Linked DNA regions of Homo sapiens: regions 1, 2, 4, 5, 6 and 7 are each linked to region 3. Evidence: promoter capture Hi-C in 16 types of primary human blood cells and fetal thymus (Javierre and others, 2016). All regions are on one chromosome and are shown on one strand. Each heading gives the region's core, a stretch centred on a gene start or on the middle of the fragment in contact. The rest is flanking DNA. Distances are from core to core; before and after follow the strand shown. Region 1 holds the start of RCL1 (RNA terminal phosphate cyclase like 1). Region 2 overlaps CDC37L1 (cell division cycle 37 like 1, HSP90 cochaperone). Region 3 holds the start of PUM3 (pumilio RNA binding family member 3). Region 4 overlaps SPATA6L (spermatogenesis associated 6 like). Region 5 has its middle 7.5 kb from the start of AK3. Region 6 has its middle 50 kb from the start of GLIS3. Region 7 holds the start of SPATA6L (spermatogenesis associated 6 like).

Region 1 (3,449 bases), core at 36-2,535, 1.9 Mb after region 3:
GGTAACATGGCAAAAACCCATGTCTATACAAAATACAAAAATTAGCTGAGCATGGTGGTGCACACCTGTAGTTCCAGCTAATGGGGAGGCTGAGGTTGGAGGATTACTAGAACTCGGGAAGTTGAGGCTGCAGTGAGTCATGAGCATGCCACTCCACTCCACTTTATAACACACTGTTGTCTACATAAGGCTAGCTACATCCCTTAATCTTAAACTCCCACCGCTTTCAGACACTATCATACCCCGCCCCCCTTCCCCCCGCGAACCCCCGTGCATTCTGGGACTCATGGTTTGGTGAGTGTTGTCCAGGAATGGCTACAAACCCACATTACTATGATATCGGACTTCTACTTGTGTAGTCATTTGTTAGTTAACTGTACATTTTGGAAGGTTTTTGAGTAGAGAAGTGAAATAATCCAACGTTTGGGAAGATTTTCTTGTGCAGGATTGGAGGAGGACGGGAAAGAGGGAAAAAGCATTGCGCGCGTGTGTGTGTGTGAAGTTATTACAACTATCTATCTTGAAGCATGCGAGGTAGGAGGGCCTGAATTGCCATGAAACGCAATGACGATAAACGAAGGGACCCGTGAGAAAGGGGCAAAGAGGTGTCTCAATAAAATAAGCAACGGCCTGCTGTGGGAGGATTCGGGTCTCAGTATAGGCTGCCACTGTCAGCTTTGCAATATTCCTCGAGCCTTTATCCATGAGTAGGACAGGATGGCTCTACCTTGCAGGGTTACAGCATGGAGCTGCGGGACTGCGCCGGCAGTGCGCTGAGCGGCATCCCTGCGATAGGGTGAGTGCACCAACCCTTGTTGTCTCTCTTAGTAAGAAAGAGGAGGGGTAGATAATAGCATCTTCACCCCAGTAGTTGCCGTAAGTAGTAATGCTAAGAATCCGGCACGTCGTAGGCATCAATCTCAGTCCGCCATCTCCCCTTGCTACCACGCCAGGAGGTACACAGAGGAGACTGCCCCGACTGGCAACTCCCGCGCCGGGGTTCCCTGGCCATCCTCCCGCGTTCCCTCCAGCCGCGCGCTGTTGCCAGGGCCCGGGCACCGCCCAGCTCCACTACGGACCAATGGCAGCGCGGCTTGGGCACCGCCCAGCTTCAGCGGAAGCCAATGGAGGCGCGGCGCGGGCACCGCCCTGATCCGGCGCGGGCCAATAGCGGCGTGGCCCGAAGCGGGGGCCGCCCCGGTCGGGCGGGGAGGCGGGGAGGTGGCCACTGGCTCCGCCCCGCTCCCCTCTGACCCGGTGTCTAGTCTCTCCGTCTTCCTGTTCCAAACCACGTGGACGCGTCTGGGCTGCTGGAGGCAGCCCGAGCCGCCGCCGTCGGTGTCGCCGCCACCACCACCATCGGAGTCACGAGTCCCGCGTCTGTCCGAAGTCGCCGCTCTCGGGCTGCTCACGTCTCTTCGGAGAGCGCGCACATGGCGACTCAGGCGCACTCCCTCAGCTACGCAGGGTGCAACTTCTTGCGCCAACGTCTGGTCCTGTCTACCCTGAGCGGGCGCCCCGTCAAAATCCGAAAGATTCGGGCCAGAGACGACAACCCGGGCCTCCGAGGTAACTTGGTGTGGGCGGCGCGCGGCGTGGGCGCGGGGGCTGAGGGGAGACCGAGCTGATGCCGTGGGGGCCCGCGCGGTGTTGGTTGGGCGGCTCGGCGTCCGGCGAGCGCGTCGGGGAGGGCAGGTGGCGCGTCGCCTCCAAAGCCGGAGGGGCAGGCACAGTGGGGGAGGCGGGGTCGGGGCCCGAGGGGAGCGCTCAGCTGCAAGCTGCGCTCGGCGTCTCCGGGGCGCTGGTAGTAAACAGCTGCACGTTTTCCAGCTTTACGTGTAGCAACAAATCCCTGGCGTCGCCCCTTCGCGTCCCTTCGGCCCCTCTTGCCCTCGCCATAAACCTCTCAAAGGAGAAAAACAGTTTGTTGGACCGAAATATGGTGAATGAGCCGGGGGAGAGACATTGGGAGAGAAAAGTACCTTGGGTTGGTTCTCTGCCCTGTCTCAAAGCAGTTCTCAGAAGCAGCTGCCCCCTTGGACACCGGCTGTTCCTGTCGCCATGATTTCTCGGCTGCCCTCACACTTGTCCTTGGGTGTGGATAAAGAAATTTTTAAAATTCTGTGTTTGTTTTCAGCCGTGACTGTGATTGATGTGCGCAGGACAGGAGCTTTGAGATAGACTTTTAACAGTCATGGGCCTAATTGCCTTGACTTTAGAAAAGGGGTCGGTGACAATCGCTAAACTGCAGGCTTCCAAGCTCACTTCTTGCTCTGCAATGGTAGGTTAAAAAGAAATAGGCCCATTTAAACCCACATCTCATTAAATGGCGCCGGTTTTCAACTGGCCTTGGTTTACACCTGGCCCCCTGGCATGAGATACATGCATTTAAAAGCTTCTGACTGGTGGTTATCCCAAGTTGGGCGAGTCAGTAGTCAGGTGAAAAAGGAAAAAACCTGTCTGTAAATTGAAAAAGAGTGTTTGTGGTTGGTCCTGGAAGCTTCCTGAGCGGCGCTGATGTGTTTCATTTTGCACTGGCTCTTGTTTTATCTGTCTGAATGCATTTTTTGGATAGTTAGATCTCTGCCTCTCTTGGGTGGTGATTGGCTGCACATAAAGGGCAGAAGATGCCATGCTATTGACGGAGATAGGTTAGGAAGGAAAGAAGCAGAATATCCCAGGTACAGTGGTGAGAAACCTAGTGATGGTAGGAAAAACTTGTGTTGGTGGTTCCTGTCCTCTCTCTACTGCTCAAAAACACTGAGAAAGTTAGGGAGAGACCACAAATGGTTTATGCCACGACTTTTCCGTCAACAAGTGTTCCACTTAGTTTGACCCTTGGGCAAAGTGTTTGCTTGATTGCTGTGTGGCATTCTCAGCCAGCTCTCCATCCACTTTACCCTCAGGTTAGCTCAGAGAACTTGCCACTAGCTGGATATGGTAAGAAGATGGACTTCTACTTTGTATAAAAGTAGGCATAACTTTTTTTTTTTTTTCCAGAGAAATGGAAGTATAGCCTGGAAACCTGGGTTCTCTAAAATGAATCTAGTTCTATTTAGAGTTTTTCTATTGACAGGTGGCCTCCAATTTAATATTTAATGTTCCAAAGTATGCTTCTCCTTCTCCCCCTCCACTGTATGTGAGCATCTCTTCAAAGCATCTCACACATATGAGCTCCCGTTTCTTCCAAGAACAGGGCTTGGCCACTTGGCACTTTCTTGAAAGGGTGTCAGACGCTGATACCTGAGGGAGGTAGAACTGCTTGGCAGGTGTGCTGGTATTTTATGGGGAACATTACTGTAGAGCATTATTTGCCTTACCCCGTTCATATACCAGGGGAAGAAAGAGACTCCTAGTTATTTGTACATCCTTGCGCTGGCTTCAGGGCCTCAGAAACCTTGTAGATGTTTGTCTGCTTAATTTCTTTCTTTTTTTTTGAGACAGAGTCT
Region 2 (3,478 bases), core at 559-3,058, 1.8 Mb after region 3:
TATGATGGCATGTGCCTGTATTGCCTTAGTCCCAGCTACTTCGGAGGCTGAGGCTTGAGGATTACTTGAACCCAGGAGGTAGAGGTTGCAGTGAACCGAGATCGTGCCACTACACTCCAGCCTGGGCAACAGTGAAACACATCTCAAACTTCTTAATTGTCCTCTTGGCATCTGCTTTCACCCACTCTCATGAACTTTTTTAATTGCCTTTCCCTGGACCAGCTCTAGTTCTGCTACAGCAGTCAGTAACACACACAGATAAGTGTACATCGCCACTAGCCCTATCAGTACTTTAACAGTGAGTCATATCTTTCTCGACTTTCTCTGTGCCTGTACTAATTTATATATACTTTTTCTCCCCCTCCACAATGGGATCATTCTTTATCTGAGTCATTTGCTATATCTGTATATATTGTTTTAAGGGGTGCATCTTGTGTTATTTTCTGTTCTGCATTTATATCCCAAAACTATTGAAAATAATTTTTTTTCTTCCAGAAGGAATGTTCAAAGTAATATTTCTTGTTTTGTAAAGTTAATGTCTCTTCTTTAACACAGTGGTCACAAAGAAAATATTTTCATTTTGTCTCTGCTTTTAATTATTTCTTTAAACTTAGGTTCTAAGGTTCTAAGACAGCCTACATTTATCTCACAAATTAATTAGGACTATCTTTATGTTCCAGTCATTTGCTCAAAATCCTACACTGGTTTTGTCTGGGAGCTTGAGACTTGAGAGGACTGGTCTAGATCTGCACTATCCAACTTGATAGCCACTAGCCACATGTGCTATTGAGTGCTTGAAATGTGGCTAGTCCGAATTGAGATGTGCTGTAAGTGTAAAATACACACCAGATTCCAATGATGTAGTGCCAAAAAAAGTAAAATATTAATAATTGTTTTGTATTGCTTACATGTTGAAATGATAATAGGCTGGATATGTTAAGATAAATAAAATAATTTATTAATGTCATCTGTTTCTTTTTGCTTTTTAACGTGGCTAATAGAAAACTTTAAATTACATTTGTGACTTGGATTGTATTTCTATTGGACAGTGCTGGTCTAGATGTCAGACTGCATGAAGAAAAAATCTTTTATTTTGAAATATGTAAACTTTTGAGTGCTTCCTGATTATAAACTGGCAGTGATCTAGTTTGCAATTTTTATTTTTGGCAGTGATGATAACGGGGTATAAATATGATCACAGAATGTTCTAAGAAACTTCTGCCAGTTTTTCTAGCTAGATACAAACTTTATTCTTGGTATATTTTATGACTTATTTAACTGAAAATAAGTACTTCCTTAATAGAAATTTGTACTTGACTTTAAAAATCAAACTGTTTGGTCTCTTCTAAGAAGTTTATTAGAAATGCAACAAAGGGCCAGGCACAGTGGCTCATGCCTATAATCCCAGCACGTTGGAAGGCCAAGGTGAAGGGATTGCTTGAACCCACGAGTTCAAGACCAGCCTGGGCAACATAGCAAGACCACGTCTCTACAAAAAATTTAAAAATTAGCTGGGTATGGTGGCTCACACCTGTAGTCCCAGCTACTCTGGAGGCTAAGGTGGGAGGATCACTTGACCCCAAGAGGTTGAGGCTGCAGTGAGCTATGATTGTGCCACTGTACTCCAGCCTGGGTGACAGAGCAAGACCCCATCTCAAAAAAAAAAAAAAAAAAAAAAAGACACGCAACAACAACAGTCTATTTCTTGTTTATGTCTTAATAAAGAATTTACGGTAAATATCATTTATTCTCTATGTGCTTTGAATTTCTGAGTTTATTTCCAGCAAGAACTCGAAAGATTAGGCAAGAGTTGCAAATATTTATAGGAATTAAATAATGCACAAGTAAACTATGCATATAAAATATAAAGGATGTTTCTATACCTGCTTTTAATTGGGAAATTCAGCTTACCAAAAAGGTTAATTCAGTTGTTTTTCTGTATGATTTCTAAGATGAACCTATATCCACACATATATCGTATGTATTTTTTTGTGAGATGGAGTCTTGTTCTGTCGCCTGGGCTGGAGTGCAGTGGCATGATCTCAGCTCACTACAACCTCTGCCTCCTGGGTTCACGCAAGATTCTCCTGCCTCAGCCTCCCGAGTAGCCGGGATTACAGGCATCCACCACCATGCCCAGCTATTTTTTGTATTTTTAGTAGAGACGGGGTTTCACTATGTTGGCCAGGCTGGTCTTGAACTCCTGACCTCGTGATCCACCCGCCTCGGCCTCCCAAAGTGCTGGGATTACAGGCGTGAGCCACCACACCCGGCCTCATACATCATTTTAAACAAAATTAATAAGACTCCCATACAAGAAAATTTTAATTTTTAAAAATAGTTTACCAGATGAATTTAATCATGTAATATCAGTATGATACTATACCACATATATTGTCTATAGGAAGAATTGCTAGATATTCAGTATCTGAGAAAGAAGATTCAATTAGAATTTAAAATCTGATTTAAATTTCTAAAATTTTTTCTTAGAGTTTTATTAATCAAGATAAAAGAAAAGACACAGAAGATGAAGATAAATCAGAATCATTTATGCAAAAATATGAGCAAAAAATCAGACATTTTGGTAAGTCTACTACTTGGATTTCCTTCTTTGTAATGTTTGGTATCATATGTACATGTGCAAAAAATGGATTTATAAAAAGAGAGCCAAAAAGAAAAGTGGCAAACTCCAATTTTGTAGCTTCTGGCACAGCTGTATAGATCTTGTTTTAGAATTTTTTTTTTTTTTGGTTATAAATAAAATTAATTGACAGAGCAAACCAAATGGTAAAGAGAAGCAAAAGTATTATTATATAGTGTACTACCTTTAAGACAACTTTATGTATTCCATAGCCTCTTTCCATTTCCTAAGTAGTCTTTGCTTTTTTCTTTTTCCTCTTTGCTTCCTTGGAATCTGATTATCTTATGTTTTAAAGATTATTCATTTTTTTTCAGGTTTTGGATATGATGCTTTATAATTCAGGCAGATCCTTGAACTGTTACTCAGATAAATATAGTAATAGAAATGTATATATAAAGAACTGAAAAATAGGTTTTTTCTATTGGGGAAAAAGGGTAAGAGGGGGGTTGATACAAGTGAAGGCTTCCCAGAGGAGCCAGCATCTGAGCTTGATTTCAAGGAACAGATAGGAGTTTTTCATGTATAAGGGAGGCAAGCCAACAGCAACAGCATGAGACGGGCAGTTAGGAAACAGCATGGTGTGTTCTGAGAATTATAGGCAGCATGATACCGCTGGCATGAAAATGCTGCTGGGAAGTGTTAGGAGTTAAGGTTTAAAACTTTTTTTTTTTTTAATTCCAAGTAGTATGTTAATTTAGTAAACATGGTTTTTATTTGTAATATGTTCATGAACTTTTTACATGGCATTTTGAAATCTTTTTCCTGTTGGTGTTTATTTACCCAACGTTTTTTGAATTTCGTTTATGCTTCAGTTATGTCAATATAATAAATATTACT
Region 3 (3,693 bases), core at 82-2,581:
AACAGGAACCTTACCCTTAATATGTCCAAAACATAATTCTCTATGTTGTTCTTTATGTTATTGTTGTTTGCCCCACAAACAACAATATACTATTTTTCCCTGCCCTATCGTCCTCCATCTCAGCCAATGGCACATCATCTACTTTACTGCTCAAGTAAGAAATCTGAGTTACCCTTGACATTTTCCTCTCTACTCTGCCACGCTGAACCATAAGTTAGTTCTCTTAAATGTCCCTTACGTCACCACCCTAATGCAAACTATTACCAATACAATCTCTTGAGCTTCCAAATGTAATACATTTTCTAAAGAGAACCAGGGCCTATTCATGATTCTCACTTGCTTACAAGTCTTCAATGTTTTCTACACATGGTAATAGGAACGGAAATGTTTTCCTATTGTACAGAAAAAAAAATTCCCCATCATGACCTTCAAGGCCCTACAGAACCTAGTTCCACTCTATCCGGCTAACTTTATCTTGTACTCTAACTATACTCCTTCCTAGCTCCCATCTCAGGAACTTAGCCCATTATCGCCTCTGCTTGAAGTACTCCCTGAGCTTCCAAATCTCCGTTTAAAGATCACTTCTTCAGACTCCACTATCTGCCAACTCAGCATCCAGTTCGTTTCCTCCCAGCACTTAGAATCTGCGTACATTCAGGCAAACCGCCTAGCACTGGAGTTGGGGTTTGTGAAGTAGCACAGACAGGCTGATCAGGCCGAGCACGGGCTGGGATTCCGGAGTGAAGCTAGTCCACTCTAACCCGGCACGCAGGGCAACGTGGTGGGAGAGAGGTCGGAGTCCCGCCCTTCTTTTTTTTTTTTTTTTTTTTTTTGAGACGGAGTCTTGCTCTGTCTCCCAGGCTGGAGTGTAGTGGCACGATCTTGGCTCACTGCAAGCTCCGCCTCCCGGGTTCACGCCATTCTCCTGCCTCAGCCTCCCAAGTAGCTGGGACCACAGGCGCCCGCCACCATGCCCGGCTAATTTTTTGTAGTTTTAGTAGAGACGGGGTTTCACCGTGTTAGCCAGGATGGTCTCGATCTCCTGACCTTGTGATCCGCCCGCCTCGGCCTCCCAAAGTGCTGGGATTACAGGCGTGAGCCACCGCGCCCGGCCAGTCCCGCCCTTCTTGCCAGGCTCCAGTCAGTCCCAAACTCCTAGCCCAGAAAGAGGCCAGAGGAGACTGCCCAGTGGACAACAGCCCCGAGAGACCTTCCCGACTTCCAGCGCCCGGCAGGGTGCGAACCCCTCCCAAGAGCGACCGCTGAGCCTGCCACACTCACCGCACACGTGGGACCGAGACAGCTCGCGCAGCGGATCCCGACCGCCTCTCCGCTTCCGCTTCCTTGCCTTGCTCCGCCCCCGGGCCGCTTTTTTTCATCTTCCGCGGCGGATCAGGGACTAAGAGGTGGAGCTTCCCAGAGAATACAAAAATTCGGAATTTCTATTGGTCCGCTGCTGTTATGCCTCCTCTTGAGGCGCGAGGATTTTGGCCCTTGCAAGAATCCGTCGGGCGGAGGACGCGACAACGGCCACGGGAAATGACGTCATTAACCCTGTGGCTTCCGTGCTGGAAAGAGAGGGAGAGCTCTTGCGAGGCAGAACAGGCTGCTGAAGGACAGACCTGGCTGGCGCGGTTAATAAGAGGCCTGCATCCCGTAGCCTGAACAAATATTGAAGTAGCTAAAGTTTCTAAAGTGTGTTAATTTGCATACTTCCTCAGCAGTCCAGCGTGGAGGATAAAAGGGGTATCTTGTGAGTCGATTTGAATTGTAATCCCGTTTTTTTCACTTGCTAGCTGTGTGGCTCTGGGAAAATTACAGTTTTTATGAGCTTTGGCTTCCTGATCAATAAAATAGAAATAATTAAGTGATACGTGCAAAGCGCTTAGCATGGAACGCTCTCAATAAATGTTTGCCATTTTTAGTGTCTGCTCGTGCCTGGAAACTGCTGTTATTCCATTTTATACTTCAGGAAATAAGATTGTGGTTAGGATATATGCCCCATTTTCCAGATGAAGAAACTGACACCACAAACTTGCTCGTGTCAAGCAACAGAATTTTATTCTTTAACTGTTCTAGAGGCAAGAATTCCAAAATCAAGCTGTTGGCAGAGCCCTGCACCTTTTGAAGGCTCTAGGGGAGAATGCTTTGCTTCTTCAGCTTCTAACGGTTCCAGGCGGTCCGTGGCCTCTTGTTGCATGACTCCAATCTCGGCCTGTCTTCTAATGGCCTTCTCCTGTGCCTGTGCCACTTCTCTGTGTGTTTTTAGGACACTGAACATTGAATTTAGAGTCCACGGGGATAATCCAAGATCATCTCATCTGGAGGTCCTTAATCACATCTGCAAAGGCCCTTTTCCCAAATAAGGTCACTTTCACATGTCCTGGGAGTTAGGACATAGACATATCTTTTGGAGACTATTCAACCCACTGCATCTGTAAAGTTGAGGAACTGGCACTTGATCCCTGGTGCCAGACTTCAGATTTTACTGTCTTCCAACTTACTCCGTTTTCTGGCCACTAAGGAGTTAGAGTTGAAACTGGTAATTTAGTAGACTGTATGCTTCTTGATGACAGGGGCCATCATTACTTTCCAGGCACTTATCTCACTATGCAGCACATAGATACTTGATAAGTTCTTGTCGTCTACCTTAACTGTTACTAGTTTACATTTCAGCTCATTTAAATCTCATAAGAACGTTTTAAATAGGTCTTTTCTCATTTTACAGAGAAAGGCAAAACATAGTAGCTTTGGTCCAGTGAGCCTGACTCTAAACTCAACGTGGCTGCCTCCGTACTGCTTTCAATAATTCAGTAAATGCTAAGAGAAGAGAATATGGAACAGGAATTGCAGGAGGCCCATCAGCTGTGCCTTTTGGGCAAATAGCATAGTAGTGGGGATATTAGACACCTTGAAACACCTGACAAGTAAATGCTGGCCAAAAAGAAAGAAAAATCGCAAAATACACCCTATCACACAACCCTGGGAAGGGATACGTTTGTGTTTTCAACTCGACAGACAGCAGCACCCCATATCCTTGAAGATAGGTCCATGCAGTTGCCTTAAGCATCTGCACCAAAACCCTGCTATTCATTTGCCTTTTCACCAGGGAGGAAAAAAAAAATGTTATCACATATCAAAGCCCTTGATTATTATTAAAAACTTTTTTATCAAGTCTTCTGTGAAAGTGGATTGATTTGGATTTTTTTTTTTTTTTTGGAGTGAATTGAAAGCATCGTGTGGTTTTGCAGAACAGCACAAAAAAAGCTTATCCTGTAATTTTTTTTTTTGTCAAGCAAACCCATTAATTCTTCAAATATCTAATGATCTAAATGTAGACCACTAGGTGTACTCCTACAAGCCTAAGATGCTCTTCTTGCGTGATACACAATTTAATCAGAGCAACTAGACTTGCACACATCCAAGAGGTTAATAACAGTACTATAGCAATGCAATGACGAGCATTGAGATTAGAATCAAAGGAACCTGGCTTACAATCTAAATTCTGTATGGCCAAGGACAAGATAGCCAACTTGTATGGGCCTCAGTTTCTGCATATGTAAAATGGGAATAACAACACTTGTTTCTGGAGTTGCTGTGAGGCTTAAAAGTGATAATATCTTAAAGTTCTTAGCCAGTAGTAAATGTTGAGTGATTTGTAGCTTAAGAGAGAACCAAGGTGTACCCATTTGA
Region 4 (3,324 bases), core at 593-3,092, 1.8 Mb after region 3:
AGTCTTCTCAAATTACACCTAAAACCCGCCACCTCTTTTATGTCAAACATATCATTTGCACTCTCATTTTTTAAAAATCTCTTTTATAATTCATGGCCTACAGGCTTCAGCTAACTTTGGGTCAGTCAGGTGACCACAGAGAACTGGCCTCATTGTACAGCAGCTTTTGTTTGGAGGGCCTAGGTTCCACAAAGGAGATTTTCTTAGGAGCCTCTGCAAACCAAGACCCCATGAAACATGCCCATAAAATATGCTCCAGGCTTTGACAGATCTGCAACCATAAAAATCAAGAAAGGAATTATAAACTGAAGCAAGACAGATGGGAATTCTTTTTATGATGTTTAATGACACAGATCTTCCCAAAGTAATCCAAACCCCAAAACATCACAAAATTATTCATACTATTATACACTCCAAAAGCAAAATACTTCAACTGCAATCCTTGCCCCAGCATGATTCCTCAAAATTGAGATAACTCCTTGAGAAACAAAAGTAAAAATAATAATAATTTAAGGAATAGAGTTAATAGATGCAAAAGTAAAGGGAAAAAAAGCGTAATTTAGTGTGAAAACCAAAAATGACTTTAAATAAGAATGGGCATTTAAGATCTTATTAAAGAGTTATGCTTAAACCATTTCAAAAAACACTGAATATTGAATGTCATGGTGTATATTTTAACAATAACTGAAATGGGATACCAATTCATTAGTGCTGCTTTCCTTTAGCTGCTTACGTAAGCAGCCCTCTCCTGAGACTTATAGCGTAACCTTAATGTAACACAATATTTTCTTACTTTTGATGACTACTTAGAGGTAACATCAAAACAACAAATTGACAACCATAGTTTCAGAGAGACTGAGAACATATTAGCATATGTAATTTAAGCTTGCTGTTGGCCTTGCCAAGGTGGAATGCTGGTTGTGATACAGGTTGAGTCTCCCTTATCTTCAGTGCTTGGGACTGACCAGAAGTATTTTAAACTTGGGTTTTGGTTTTTGTTTTTGTATTTTGGAATATTTACATAAACACAATGAAGTATCTTCAGGATAGGGGATAGGACCCAAGTCTAAACACGAAATTCATTTACGTTTTATATACACTTTATACAGGTAGCCTGAAGGTAATTTTATACATGATTTTAAATAATTTGGAGCATGAAACAAAGTTTCGAATGCATTTGACTGCACCCTGCCACATGCAGTCAGATGTGGAATTTTTCACTTATGGTGTTATATTGGTGCTCAAAAAGTTTTGGATTTTGGAGCATTTCAGATTTCAGATTTTTAGATTGGGAGGTTCAACTTGGATATACCTTTATTTGGCTGAAATTCTAAGAAGAGGATAAATGAATTTTGTTTTGTTGTTTTTGTTTTTGGAGTTCCTTTTCTGTTTTAATTTTTAATTTCATTTTCTTAATTTACCTAATGAACCAATCCCTATGATTACAGTGAGAAAAGAAAACTTGGCTCTCACTGAATCTTCTAAAAACTGAACAAGTTTTAGGGTAGTGTCTTACTCTATTCAGGCTGCTATAACAAAATGTCATAAACTGGGTAGCTTACAAACTACAGGAATTCATTTCTCACAGTTCTGGAAGCTGGGAAGTCCAAGATCAGAATGTTGGCAGATGCAGAATCTGGTGAGGGCCCTCTTCCTGGGTCAGAGATGGCGCCTTCTCGCTGTCTCCTCGCCAGTGGAAGGGGCAAACGAGCTCCCTTGAGCCTATTTATAGGGCACTAATCTCATTTATGAGGGGTCCACCCTCACAACCTCATCACCTCCCAAAAGGCCCCATTTCCTTAGAGGTTAGGATTTCAACATACAAATGTTGAGGGGACACAAACATTCACACTATAGTAGGGCTGGTAGAGGAAAATGCTATGCTTACACTATGAAGGAGGGAAATAAGTTTCCATTTTCAGGCCCCTCTTCTCTGGGTCTGTATCAATGAAGACAAATGTGCCTCTAGTCTCCCTTTATCCCAGCCCCTTCCTATTCCTGCTCCCTCACACTGTGTAAGCATTTCATAGATGCACCTTCCTAACTAACTTTAAAACCTGGCATTGGCAGTCCTATCTGTAGAACCTATTTACTTAATGTGTAGTTCTTTTGGAGAAATATTTGAGGAAGGTTTTGTTCCTCATCTAAATTTACAAAGAATTGCTGGAACGAAGGAGTAGGAAACAGAAGGAGCAGTTTAAACTACGCTCCAGAGGAGCCAGCCTCCTCTTACAAATTTATCACAGACATTCAACATCTAAAACAAGATCTGAACTACCCAGACGTAATGCTCTCTTTTCCAAGGTTTTTAGTGGACTTCACGTAAATCAAGCCTAACACTAAGAAATAAACAAACAACAACAAAAACGGATCTACCGAAAAGAGAAAGTCAGGTTGATAGTCTTTCCTGGAGGATTTATCAGGTTATTCCTGTGAATAGCAACTTCCTCTAGCTCATATATAATTAATTTGAGAGAGAGAGACAGAGAGAGCCAGAGAGAGCCAGAGAGAGAGAGAGGGGAAGTGTTCAGATAAGCACCTGCCACCCAACTACAGCGCTTTCTCTTTCATGTTCAAAACAAACATGCAAAAACACAAATTTTCCAGCTTGACAAGAAAATGTTAGCCCCCAAACAGCAAACACTTTAATCAACAACTCTTACCTGGGCACAAAAGACTGAGTACAGGGTTTGGTTTAAAGGGGATTAGACATCAGTGACTCAACACAGACAACAAAAAGTGTTCATTTCTTTAAGGATGCTTCAATTGTCTCAGTGAGTGAGCTCTTCATGATTCTCCTTAAGCTTTCATTAATTTCCCCTGCAAAATTTGAAACATCACATTCTACATGTGGTATTGAGAAAAAGGCAAACAATCAATACAAGTAAGGAGAAAAAGATAATGTCATACTACCCCAATCTTGGCATGTAGCTATGCCTTGGGATCACTTAGTCTCTGAGCTTTTTCCCCAGATTCCCACAACAGAATAACCCAGTGAGCATCTGTGTGACCTTGGACAATTTACTTGACGTCTTTGTAAAATATCAGGATGATGACAGAGTATCTACCTCTTACTATTATAGTGAAGAGTTAGCATTGCTACATAGTAAATGTGCCAAAATAGGTGTTATTCAGTTGAGCTGTTAAACGTGTTCCAATTAACTATATTCTACTGAACAAATTTCCTTCCTTCCTTCCCTTCCCTCCTTCCTCCCTTCCTTCCTTCCCTCCCTCACTCCCTTCTTTCTTCCTTTCTTTCCTTTCTTTTTGATGGAGTCTTGCTCTGTAATTTGGCACTGCACACTGGGGGCCGGGATTTCACGG
Region 5 (3,288 bases), core at 523-3,022, 1.9 Mb after region 3:
TCTATCAGATGGCATATGATTTTAATGTGTTGCATTATTGATGATGCTAACTTTGATCACCCAGTTAAGGTGGTGTCTGCAGGATCTCTCCACTATGAAATTACTCTTTTTCCATTTGTAATTAACAAGTATTCTAGGCCCGGCACGGTGGCTCACGCCTATAATCCCAGCACTTTGGGAGGCTGAGGAGGGAGGATTGCTTGAGCTCAGGAGTTTAAGACCAGCTGGGCAACAATTCAAAAAAAATTAGCTGGGCATGGTGGCCCAGCCTATATTCTTAGCCTCTCAGGGAGTGGGTTGAGTGGGGTGCTGAGGTGGGAAGATCACTTGAGCCCAGGAGGTGGAGGCTGCAGGGAGCTATGATCGTACCACTGCACTAGAGCCTGGGCAACGGTGTGAGACCCTGTCTTTAAAAAAAAAAAAAGTATTCTGTAAGAGGGTAGTTGAAGTTCAGACTTTGTAAATACCTTATCTTTCATCAAACTTTTAATTTACTCACTATCTTACATTTATTTATATGGTTTCTTATTTTATTAAATTGGTTGTAAGCCATTGTCATTATTATTTATTTTGATGTTCAAATCATTTAAGATTTGGCTAATGGAATCTCCTTCGTGTTAGCTAGCATCTGTGTCCTTTTGGCATGTCCCCATTACTCTTTGTGCACTTCTTTACTTTCTGGCATAAGAAGGTCCAGGTTCATCTTGGACTTCCTAGACCCAGCAACACATTGAAATGGCTGAGATCAACCATTTCTCCAAGAATCCCTGGTTTCCTTTAGTGGAATATGGAATTTAGAAACTGAGGCCCGTGCATTCAGTGTGCTCATTACTATTAATGTGTTGCTGCTTTAAGGCCCTCTCAGAGGACAGGGCTAAGGAATATGTAAATATGTTTGTATTCATTTACACACACGTTTACATCTACATTTATTTCTATGTTTATCTATGTATTACTGAAGCCATGAGTTTACATTGATACCTTCATTTCTGATCTAATATTCTAGGATTTATTTTCATTTTTTCCCTTCCATCCTTCACTACAATCCTAGTCTTGTCTTCTCCTCATATATTGAAGCCACCAATTTTTATTTTATTTTATTTTATTTTTTAGAGACAGAGTCTTACTCTGTCACCCAGGCTGGAGAGCAGTGGCATGATCATACCTCACTGCAGCCTCAACCTCCTGGGCTCAATTGATCCTACTGCTTCAGCCTCCCAAGTAGCTGGAACTACAGGCACATGCCATCACTCCCCACTAATTTTTATTTATTTATTTATTTTTAATTTTTTTTAGTAGAGACAAGATCTTGCTATGTTGGCCAGGTTGGTCTCAAATACCTGGGCTCCAGGGATCCTCCCACCTCAGCCTCTAAAATATTGGGATTACAGGTGTGAACCACTACATTCAGTCTTCTTTTATTCTTATCTACCTAACACAGAGTAACACATTGCTTCTGGATTTTGAGTTAGTGTCTCTAACAGACTCTCATGTCCTTCATGTATCCACATTTATGATCAGTCACTCTGTGTATACCCAACCTTCTATCACCACTGCCTACCCTTTCTCCATGCAGATGTCCTCCTCACCCCACTTGGGTTACAGAATTCCATGCCGACAATTCATCAGCCCGATATATGGACGCTGTTATCTGGCTGGGGCTCTGACACTCTATGCTGGACCAGACCACGCCCTCCAAAGACATCCTTCTCACCACTTCTGGGCTCTGACATCACAGGCCAGGCTGCTTATGACTATGAGCATTCTACTCACTCTGTGCAGACTCCAAAACCCTGAGCCACACTGTACTGCCGTCTACATGGAGAAATCTTCCTCACTCCACTCAGACTCTGGCACTTGTGCTGGGCAGCTCTCCTCTGCAGATGCCCTCTTCTTGCATATAGTTTAAATGTAGACCCAACGTGAGTCCCTGGTGGATTCGATGGATTAAAGTGAGGGAAAAAAAGAGATTTCTCCTGAGCTACTGGGAGAATAGAATTGTCATTAGCTGAGATTGGGAAGACTATAAGAGAAACAGGTTGGGTGAAAATATTAGAGTTGTTTTGGAATAAGTTAACTTCGAGATACCTGTTGGACATCCAGGCAGAGAAAATAAGGAAGGAGGCAGATGTATAAATTTTGACCACAGGGTAGAGGTCCAGGCTGGAGACATAAATTTGAGAGTTGTCAATATGTTTAAATTTTTGAGATGGTACAAGCTCACTAGGGAGCAACTTTAGATAGAGAGGAGAGGTCTGAAATCTGAGTTCTGAGGTTGTCTAACATTTTGAGGTTGGAAGATATGGAAGAAACATTGAAAAAACCTGAAAGAGAGGGAGAGGCCAATTAAGAAGAAAATTGGGTGAGTATGGTGTCGTGGAAGTCAATTGAAGAATGTGTTTCAAGAAGAATATGATGAAATGAGTCAAATTCTGCTGATAGGTAGGACTGAGAACTGATTGAAAATTATTTCTAGGCTGGGCACAGTGGCTCACGCCTGTAACCCCAGTACTTTGGGAGGCCGAAGTGGGCAGATCAGAAGGTCAGGAGTTTGAGACCAGCCTGGCCAGCATGGTGAAACCCTGTCTCCACTAAAAATACAAAAAATTAGCCAGGCATGGTGGCGCCTGCCTGTAGTCCCAGCTACTCAGGAGGCTGGGGCAGGAGAATCGCTTGAACCTGGCAGGTGGAGGTTGCAGTGAGCTGAGATCGTGCCACTCTACTCCAACCTGGGTGACAGAATGAGACTGTCTCAAAAAAAAAAAAAAAAAAAGGAAAAAGAGAAAAAAGAAAATTACTTCTAGTTGTCAAAAAAAACCCCTTATGAAATAAATTACATTTCATTTACAATTTATAGATTTAAAAAATGAGGATAATTTTGCCCCAAATTCCATAACTATTCAGCAGCTAAATTAGTGATTTCAAATTGTACTGGATGCATATAGGAAATGCTTTCTCTGAGGAGAAACTTCTGGGAGTAGAATTCAAATTATCCAGACAAGGATATTAGAGAAAAAAGAAAGATAAGGTCTAGACAAAAGTCAAGGAACAGAACAGAGAAGGTGGAACTCAGATACTACAATGTCATATTGTTTAACACTTTGCAAAAGAAACAGAAGAGGGCGCCTTAGAGCTAAGACAATTTTATTAGGACGTTCACTTGGAAAGATAAATAAGAATATCTGAGAAAGCCCTAAGAAAGACGGACAATGAGGAAGCCTGTACCATAAGAAAATAATATTGACACATATTTTAGTTTATTCTATGTCCTCCTCACCCCACTTGGGT
Region 6 (3,656 bases), core at 71-2,570, 1.5 Mb after region 3:
TAGAGGAATCTTATTCAAAAAGGAAAATGCTCCTAAGTGAAAAAAAAACAGATTAAAAAGATATAAGCTCAATATGATTCCAACTTTTATTCAACATAAATGTGCATAGAAAATACGGAAATTATAAAATCAAAATTATGTCTATTGGCTTTGTAGAGTAAAATTATGGATGGTGCTTTCTTCTTCTTTATAGTTTTTCATTTTTTCCATAGGAAACATATATTACATTTGTACTCAGCAAACATCCAGTAAACATTATTTCTAATTAGAAAAGAAGCTGAAGGAGGAAAACATTCATGAAACTCAATAATAATAAAATAATAGGAGAATGCAACATAAAAATAGGAGAATGCAACACTACTCCTTATCTAAGCTTACTAAACATCAGTTGATCCCTCAACTTTCAACTTAAAATAAGCCTTTGCCATGAGGGCTTCACTGAACACCCCAGTTGATAGCAATCTCTCCTTTCCACAACAGTTTATGATAGGTGTTGTCAGTGGCACTGGTATGCACACTTGCAGAACTGCAGACTAATGTTATTTAAATATTTTATGCAACCATATTTCTCCAAGTAGATTATATGACCCATAAAAGCCAGGCATTTGACTCTTCTAAATGCTTTATAATAGTAAATGTTCCTATATTTACTTAATAATTAACTGGAATTATTTTATTTGTATCCTGGCATGCACATTGCATACAATACCCTCTCGTAGAGTCTAATTGGTGTTGAGGATTTATATTGATGAGTAGAAAAAGAGAATGGAAATGGTCATTGCACAGAAAAAAATCCCTGTATGCTAGATGACCAAAAAGGAAAAAAATACCTAACAAAACTTTGTTAATTTAGATTGCATTTACTTAGGGAAGGAACTGAAGTACTTACCTTGCAAATTACTAGCAAAAATAAGATTCCAGGACTTCCAGACAAGAGGACACACAGAGCATCACTCTAAGCACACAGAAATGATGAATAAAAGACAGAAAAAAAAATACTTTAAGCAGGGCTTGACAGCAAAAAGGAAAAATATCCGGGTACCAGAAATGAAGAAGAAACCTAAATTCATGGTGGCAAGAAGAAATGAAGTCATGAAGCCTTCAGGGTGTCCTGAATTGGTCATTAGCCTTCAGTTTATCTGGAAGCCAGTTGAACTAGAAATCGATGAATCTTCTGTGGGGCCTGTCCTGGCAAGAGTGAGATAATCTGCTGCAGAGGCTGTGGGTGGGCAGCCCAGGCCAGCTGGCTTCAGGAATGTGAAAGAGACTTAGACGGACCAAGAGCAGTGGGGCAAAACTGACTTTGACCAAACTGAGAGAGTCAGATTGCAAGTTACACCAGCTCAGAGACAGCTGATAGCAGCATAGTGAGAAGGGATCAGGCATAGGAGTTCCATCACCGCAGAGGTCAGAGAAGACCGAGAGCTATCACAAGGCCCAGTGGCGATGGGAGACTCCCTTCCTCCACCACCGCATGGCCATGTTTGCTATACCCGCAAGGCACCTATTCACCAGCACCTTGGAGAGCAAAGAGGGAATAGGCGGAAATGTGAGGAACTGGGCACGTTTAAATCAAAAGACTGAAAATTAACTTAAAGAGACTATTTCAGTTATTGCACTGGGCCACATTTACTGGATTTGACTTAAAATTTATATTTTTTCCTCCCATCTCTATATGGATAGAAACAATTGACACAAATGGAATCAAGTAATAGAAAATTTCTTTAAACTGCATTTTCACTATTCACCTGTGCACAGTGTAAATTTATAATCCTGCCGTACTATATCTCTCTGAAATTTTTAAAAATATTTTTATTTTAAAGTCTCTTTCAGAACTGCTTTATTATCTCTATTTTGGGGTGGGGATAAGGAAGACTGAACTCTTCTTCCAGAATCCAAAATGTTAAATTGGACAAAAAGACCCCACCTTTGGTATTTCTCTCAAATCAAGTAATATCCTCCTTCATTCTGGACCAAGGAAGAGTTGGGATTGATGTGTCTCTGCTGCCTCTATGTCTCTTCTACCCAAAATGCCTTGGGGTAAAAAACATCAGGGTTTGTTTTGTTTTGTTTTGTTTTTGTTTTTGTTTGTTTTTGTTTTCTTCCAGTTTCTGTCTCCTCAGGACTTTCCCTAGTACCACTAGTACCAGAACCAGCTACGTAATTTTGGGGCCCAGTTCAAAATGAACAAGGGCTCTTTGATCAATAAACCATTTGTGGCTCTTCTAAGCCTGGGGCCCTGTGTGTCTGTGTAGGTCACACCGCCATGAAGCTTGTCCTATCTATATACAAGGCCTTGAAGTGCTGGGCCCTGGGCTTCACTTCTCTGTATAATAATCCATTTCTTTCTGATTCTGGCCTGTTTCTTAGACCTTAAGGCTGGTTGGGATAGCCTCTCTACACTTACAGGGAGCTGGAGAATTGCTTGAACACAGGAGGTGGAGGTTGCAGTGAGCCAAGATCAGGCCACTGCACTCCAGCCTGGGAGACAGAGTGAGACTCTGTCTCAAAAGAAACAAACAAACAAACAATTAACTGGGTGTGGTTATAGTCCCAATAAGCTGGGAGGCTGAGGAAGGAGGATCACTTGAACCTGGGAGGTTGAAGCTTCAGTGAACTGTAATCGCACCACTGCACTCAAGCATGGGCAACAGAGTGTCTCAAAAAAAAAAAAAAAAAAGGGAGGGTGAGGAGAAATCTTTTACATATCTCATAAAATATTTAGTGCTTGAGTTCATTACAAAAGTTTAGAATATACACTGAAAAACACAAAAATATCTTTCTCTAAGAGTTCTTTATTACTCAATTTATCACAGTAGTTGAAAAGGAATTTTCCATTTAATTGTTCAGATTTAGTGAAATTTTCATGGGCAAAAAGAGAAAAAAGTATGTAGTTCGGTAATGATGAACATCAAATGATAAGGAAAGATTTCATTTTTTTAAAAAAATGTTGTTTTTCCTTGAACTAGGGAGCACAAATGATACCCAAAGGACTCTCTGTCACTTACTGATGGGCCTTAGATTTTTAAAATTAGTTTCTAAGCCTCTTCAAAGAATCCAATTTTATCTTTAAGCTAGAAAACTGGAGCACAAAGAAGTCATTTTCAGAGAAAATGAATGCACAGTTTTCTTAAAAAAAAAATGCACACAGGATTCTGAATCTGGAGAAAAATATAAAACTAGTAGTGCCTGTATTTGAGTTACATTTTGGATCTAAAGAGTTTGATGTAACTCCTAGAGGGTTAATAGCTGCTCTTGGTTAAAAAGTAAATAAGCAAGATCAATTTTCTAAAATCTCTTTCTTTTCATGAAGTAAACTTCAGCGTAAGTACAAGCTACAGTGTTCGTGAAGACAGACTCACAACTACGATGGAAAAGTAGATTTCTGTTATTATAGAGGAAGCTTGTCTCAATCCATGCTTTGTCTCCTTTACATAAAAAAATACAGTCATTGTATTAAACTCTGCCAACATCAGTAAAACTCAGGCGACACCCAGTTGTGTTCTCTTTGGGGAGGCTAAGTGATTTTCTCAAAGTCATGCAGGAATATGGCTCAGGAACAAGGGAGCCACCTGAGGTTGGCCTATGACTACTAAAATTACACTGAGCCCTTTGTGTAGAGTCCCTTGGTCATTTATCTCCAAATTAAAATAGCT
Region 7 (3,331 bases), core at 832-3,331, 1.8 Mb after region 3:
ACGATGACACCATCTCATTGATTATGGCACCAGGAAGTCTGAAGGTTTCCACATTCGATGATGTCAACCTAAACCAGCAGCCATCCCGCTTGTCCCTCTTAGGCATTTCAGGCTTCCTTTGGGATTTCAGGTGTCCCATGATCTTGATGTGCTGCTAGGCTGGAGCACACACTGGCCATTACTGAACACAGCCATATTAGGGAAAGCAAAAAAACCCAAAAAATCCTCTATTGTATATTTATTCAACAACTGTTTATGTTTCCAGGACAACTGCAAAGAAAACAAGCTGAGGTGGTTATACTGTTGCTGTTAAAAGTTGGTATCAGTAAGATTTGTGTTTTGTGATAATCCCTAAATCAACATACCACTTGTAAACTGAACTTCGAGAAAGAAACATGATGTTCATTCTGTAAATATACATGCAGACAGGTCATGTACTAATCCTAGTCCTTTTCCTGAGGTAGATTTTAAACAGTATTTTTAAAGTCCAAGACATAGGTTTTTCTAGTTTATTCCCTGAAGATCTGTTGCCACAGTTGGGAGATTTCTTCTTAATCCTGATTTTCTTGGTAAGCTTTTTTACTTTATTATCTCTATAATTTATTATCTCTATCCATATTTGTGGATCGGGTAGTGGGAAAAGAGATTATAATACTTGTCTTTCTCTCCTCTCCCTCCATCCCTCAAAAGATCTTTATGCATTTCCCACTACTCCCTTACTGTCTTTTAGCATTCAGAGAAAAAGCCAACTTGCTTAAAGAGGAATCACTTAAAAGGTAGGCATATCTAAGATGCTCATAGAAGAGGAAGAATGGGACATGGCCCCATGCTTATTTTTGTTTACAACGTAACATGGCATGAGAGAGGGCAGAGAAACTAAGTTGCTGGGGAAAGTTAGAGGAACTGAAAGTTTGGGAATAGGCTGACCACATATTATGCCAGTGACCAGTATGACAGGAGATGGGGCCCTGCTGCCAGTCATCTCCACTGAATAAAGAATAATGCTCCTCTTTCAGGGTAATAAAGTGGGGAAAAGGAACGTCTTCTCAATGCAAGAACATAAGCTTTCTCGTATATACCTGTATGCTACAGTTTTTCACATGGAATTCCGTTTTCTGAGGTACAGCACATTTTAGGTAACAGTATTTAACTTGAAATTCATCATGGGAGTCTGCTGCTATACCAGGCACAAGATAAAACTCCAAAATTTCTGTTTACATTGACCTTTACATTTAAAGCTGTTCATCCATGGTGCCTCCCCAAATCATAAGACCAAAGACCACCAAACGCAGGGTGGACTCTGCTCATTATTCTTTGACCCAGAAAGACTGGAGAAGGTATGTGCTTTAAGTGCTGCTCTACCTGAAAAGAAATCCTTTAAATTACCTATGGAAGTGATGTCCTCAGATAATCTTAATGACTATTTTGGCATTTATAAATAGAAATGATTATGGACTTTGATCTGCCATACGGAGGTTCGGAACCTGGAGAACGGCTGTGATAAGTAGGTTTTGATTGAGTGAAAGCATGAGCTTGTTCAGAGTGAGGGGCATAGTGAAAAAGGAACAGCCATGCCTCAAAATCAAATCATTTGCATTCCCACAGCATCCTGAATACCGACTACCTCTTCACTTGCTAAAGCAGCTAAACTGTGAAGCTCTAAGTGGTTTGGGTTTGTTGTTTAACCTTAGCGAGATCCTTTAACTGCAGCAATATTCAAGCCAGATATTTGGAAGCAAATGATATTTCCTCTTGCAGTGTCCACAAATCTGAATATTAGGGGCATGAAATTAGGCTTACCATCTGATTTGTAATTACAATTTTGGAATTCTCTGTTTTAGTTGCTGAGGCCTGAGTTTTCTGGCTCTTAAAGCATAGATCATTTCACCTGATGTTTTTGAAGCATCCTAAGTACAGTAGAGTAGAAAACTGATTTCTTTGTTAATTGTACACTGAATAATGCCTTTTAAAAATCAAAATAAAATTAACAAATAATGGTGAATGAAGTGAGATGAAAACTTGCTTAATTTTTGCCTTGATGAGGAGGGAGACAGATTTATCACTTAGCTTCTCAAGAGTTCCTTCTTCCTGCACAATTTTTAGAGCTTAAAACTGGTATAGCACTACTAATAAGGTCTAGCCCTATTTGCTGTCAGCAAAGTGGGACAAATCCAGGAAATGTTGATCACCTTTCACACCCACATGTATGATGAAACCACACCATTTGCCAATTGTATGGAAGACAACCAGATTCCATGACAATTTCCTGTTAGCACTGTGCTTGTAATCATAGCCAGTAGAAAAGCCCCTAGAGGAAAAGCGGCATGATATTCTGTTACTAACTACATGGAAGGATTGGAAAATGGAAACTGAAATAAGAGGGAGTGACAGACCCCCAAGTAGAAACCATGGAGTCACTCTGCCACAGCACTTCACTTAGGAAGGATTTGGTAATTACGAAATAGTGATTGATTGATTTCCCTTTTGGAATTAGCAAGCCAGAGCTATCACTAAGGGGAAATATCATAGAAAATATCTGATTGGTTCATAGAGTTGGCAAATAATCAGGAAGTGATGGAGCTTTTTAAAATTATTCCCTGGTTATTTAAAGAAGTTGAAAATCCTTTCACAAATCTTTATCCAGGAGAAGAAAATAAATTCTACCTGGACTTAATGCAGGGTTGTTTGAAAAGAAATTAAAAATTCATGATAAAGATAAGAAACATGTTAGCTTTAGAACAGAAAAAAAAAAAAGTGGGAACAGGTGGAGCTGAATTAAAGGTTAGGAAGTCAGGGAAAACCAATATGGAGAAAAAGACAAAGGTGCGATCTGTCCCAGAAGATAATGATGTGTTTGTGGTAAGTGGGGGATGTGGGGGAGGGTTGTTGAAAACCACCTGAGACTATTTAGAGTCCGACTTGAGGTTAAGGAGGGGGAGTTCATCGATCTCTTACCGCCCGGATCTGCAGCTCCACCACCACCTCCAGAGGCATCGTTCCCTGCGTGGGCGAAAGGACTGGAATGAGAAGATCCTTTTGTGCCGAGCCTTGGACCAATTTTTCTTAGTTTAGCTGAATACCTAGAGCAAATGTTCCCAGAAGCTTCCCCAGTCCCACGCCCTTGTTCCCCTACCGTCCCCCCCAGCCCAGGTCCCTCCCACCGGGACGGGTCTCTCACACTCGAAGCTGGAGTGCAGGCTTCCAGAAGGCGGAAGCGTGGCGTTGCCAGGGACACTCAAACGCGCAGTCTTCATCGTGGAACGCGCGCGAGGCCCCAGCGCAGACGCGCGCCCTCACGGTCGCTGTTGCCCACGCAGTGCCCCCAGCCGGA

What was found. The method cuts DNA at HindIII sites, captures the fragments that hold promoters and counts their contacts. A CHiCAGO score of 5 or more calls a contact.
Region 1: a contact is called between the fragment with the promoter of RCL1 here and the fragment with the promoter of PUM3 in region 3, in 1 of 17 cell types (fetal thymus). The highest score is 6.6, in fetal thymus.
Region 2: a contact is called between a fragment that was not itself captured here and the fragment with the promoter of PUM3 in region 3, in 1 of 17 cell types (activated CD4 T cells). The highest score is 5.9, in activated CD4 T cells.
Region 4: a fragment that was not itself captured here is called in contact with the fragment with the promoter of PUM3 in region 3 in 2 of 17 cell types (non-activated CD4 T cells and total CD4 T cells); the score reaches 7.3 in non-activated CD4 T cells.
Region 5: a fragment that was not itself captured here is called in contact with the fragment with the promoter of PUM3 in region 3 in 1 of 17 cell types (fetal thymus); the score reaches 5.5 in fetal thymus.
Region 6: a fragment that was not itself captured here is called in contact with the fragment with the promoter of PUM3 in region 3 in 2 of 17 cell types (M2 macrophages and total B cells); the score reaches 6.9 in M2 macrophages.
Region 7: a contact is called between a fragment that was not itself captured here and the fragment with the promoter of PUM3 in region 3, in 3 of 17 cell types (fetal thymus, non-activated CD4 T cells and total B cells). The highest score is 8.2, in fetal thymus.

The regions. Positions count from the first base shown.
Region 1 is chr9:4,791,659-4,795,107 of GRCh38, forward strand. RCL1 (RNA terminal phosphate cyclase like 1) reads left to right here and starts at 1,286. Exons shown (of 9, transcript NM_005772.5): 1 at 1,286-1,569. The coding sequence starts at 1,434. RefSeq lists enhancers at 543-592, 1,413-1,462, 1,537-2,036 and a silencer at 973-1,332. The HindIII fragment of the contact is 3,785 bases long and covers 1-2,393 here.
Region 2 is chr9:4,686,023-4,689,500 of GRCh38, forward strand. It overlaps CDC37L1 (cell division cycle 37 like 1, HSP90 cochaperone), which reads left to right. Exons shown (of 7, transcript NM_017913.4): 3 at 2,491-2,584. Among named protein-coding and RNA genes, the nearest start is that of CDC37L1, 8.2 kb to the left of the region's middle. The HindIII fragment of the contact is 6,570 bases long and covers 1-3,478 here.
Region 3 is chr9:2,842,764-2,846,456 of GRCh38, forward strand. PUM3 (pumilio RNA binding family member 3) reads right to left here and starts at 1,332. Exons shown (of 18, transcript NM_014878.5): 1 at 1,282-1,332. RefSeq lists enhancers at 361-922, 1,306-1,600, 1,424-1,663. The HindIII fragment of the contact is 3,665 bases long and covers 1-3,265 here.
Region 4 is chr9:4,597,990-4,601,313 of GRCh38, forward strand. It overlaps SPATA6L (spermatogenesis associated 6 like), which reads right to left. Exons shown (of 12, transcript NM_001353486.2): 12 at 327-2,820. Among named protein-coding and RNA genes, the nearest start is that of PLPP6, 63 kb to the right of the region's middle. The HindIII fragment of the contact is 1,919 bases long and covers 884-2,802 here.
Region 5 is chr9:4,747,103-4,750,390 of GRCh38, forward strand. No RefSeq gene overlaps it. Among named protein-coding and RNA genes, the nearest start is that of AK3, 7.5 kb to the left of the region's middle. The HindIII fragment of the contact is 4,823 bases long and covers 1-3,288 here.
Region 6 is chr9:4,348,735-4,352,390 of GRCh38, forward strand. It overlaps a transcript of GLIS3 not described here. Among named protein-coding and RNA genes, the nearest start is that of GLIS3, 50 kb to the left of the region's middle. The HindIII fragment of the contact is 1,899 bases long and covers 372-2,270 here.
Region 7 is chr9:4,663,257-4,666,587 of GRCh38, forward strand. SPATA6L (spermatogenesis associated 6 like) reads right to left here and starts at 3,224. Exons shown (of 12, transcript NM_001353486.2): 1 at 2,956-3,224. The coding sequence starts at 2,994. PLPP6 (phospholipid phosphatase 6) reads left to right here. Exons shown (of 1, transcript NM_203453.5): 1 at 1-2,002. The coding sequence ends at 7. RefSeq lists silencers at 3,013-3,062, 3,073-3,152. The HindIII fragment of the contact is 2,038 bases long and covers 1,063-3,100 here.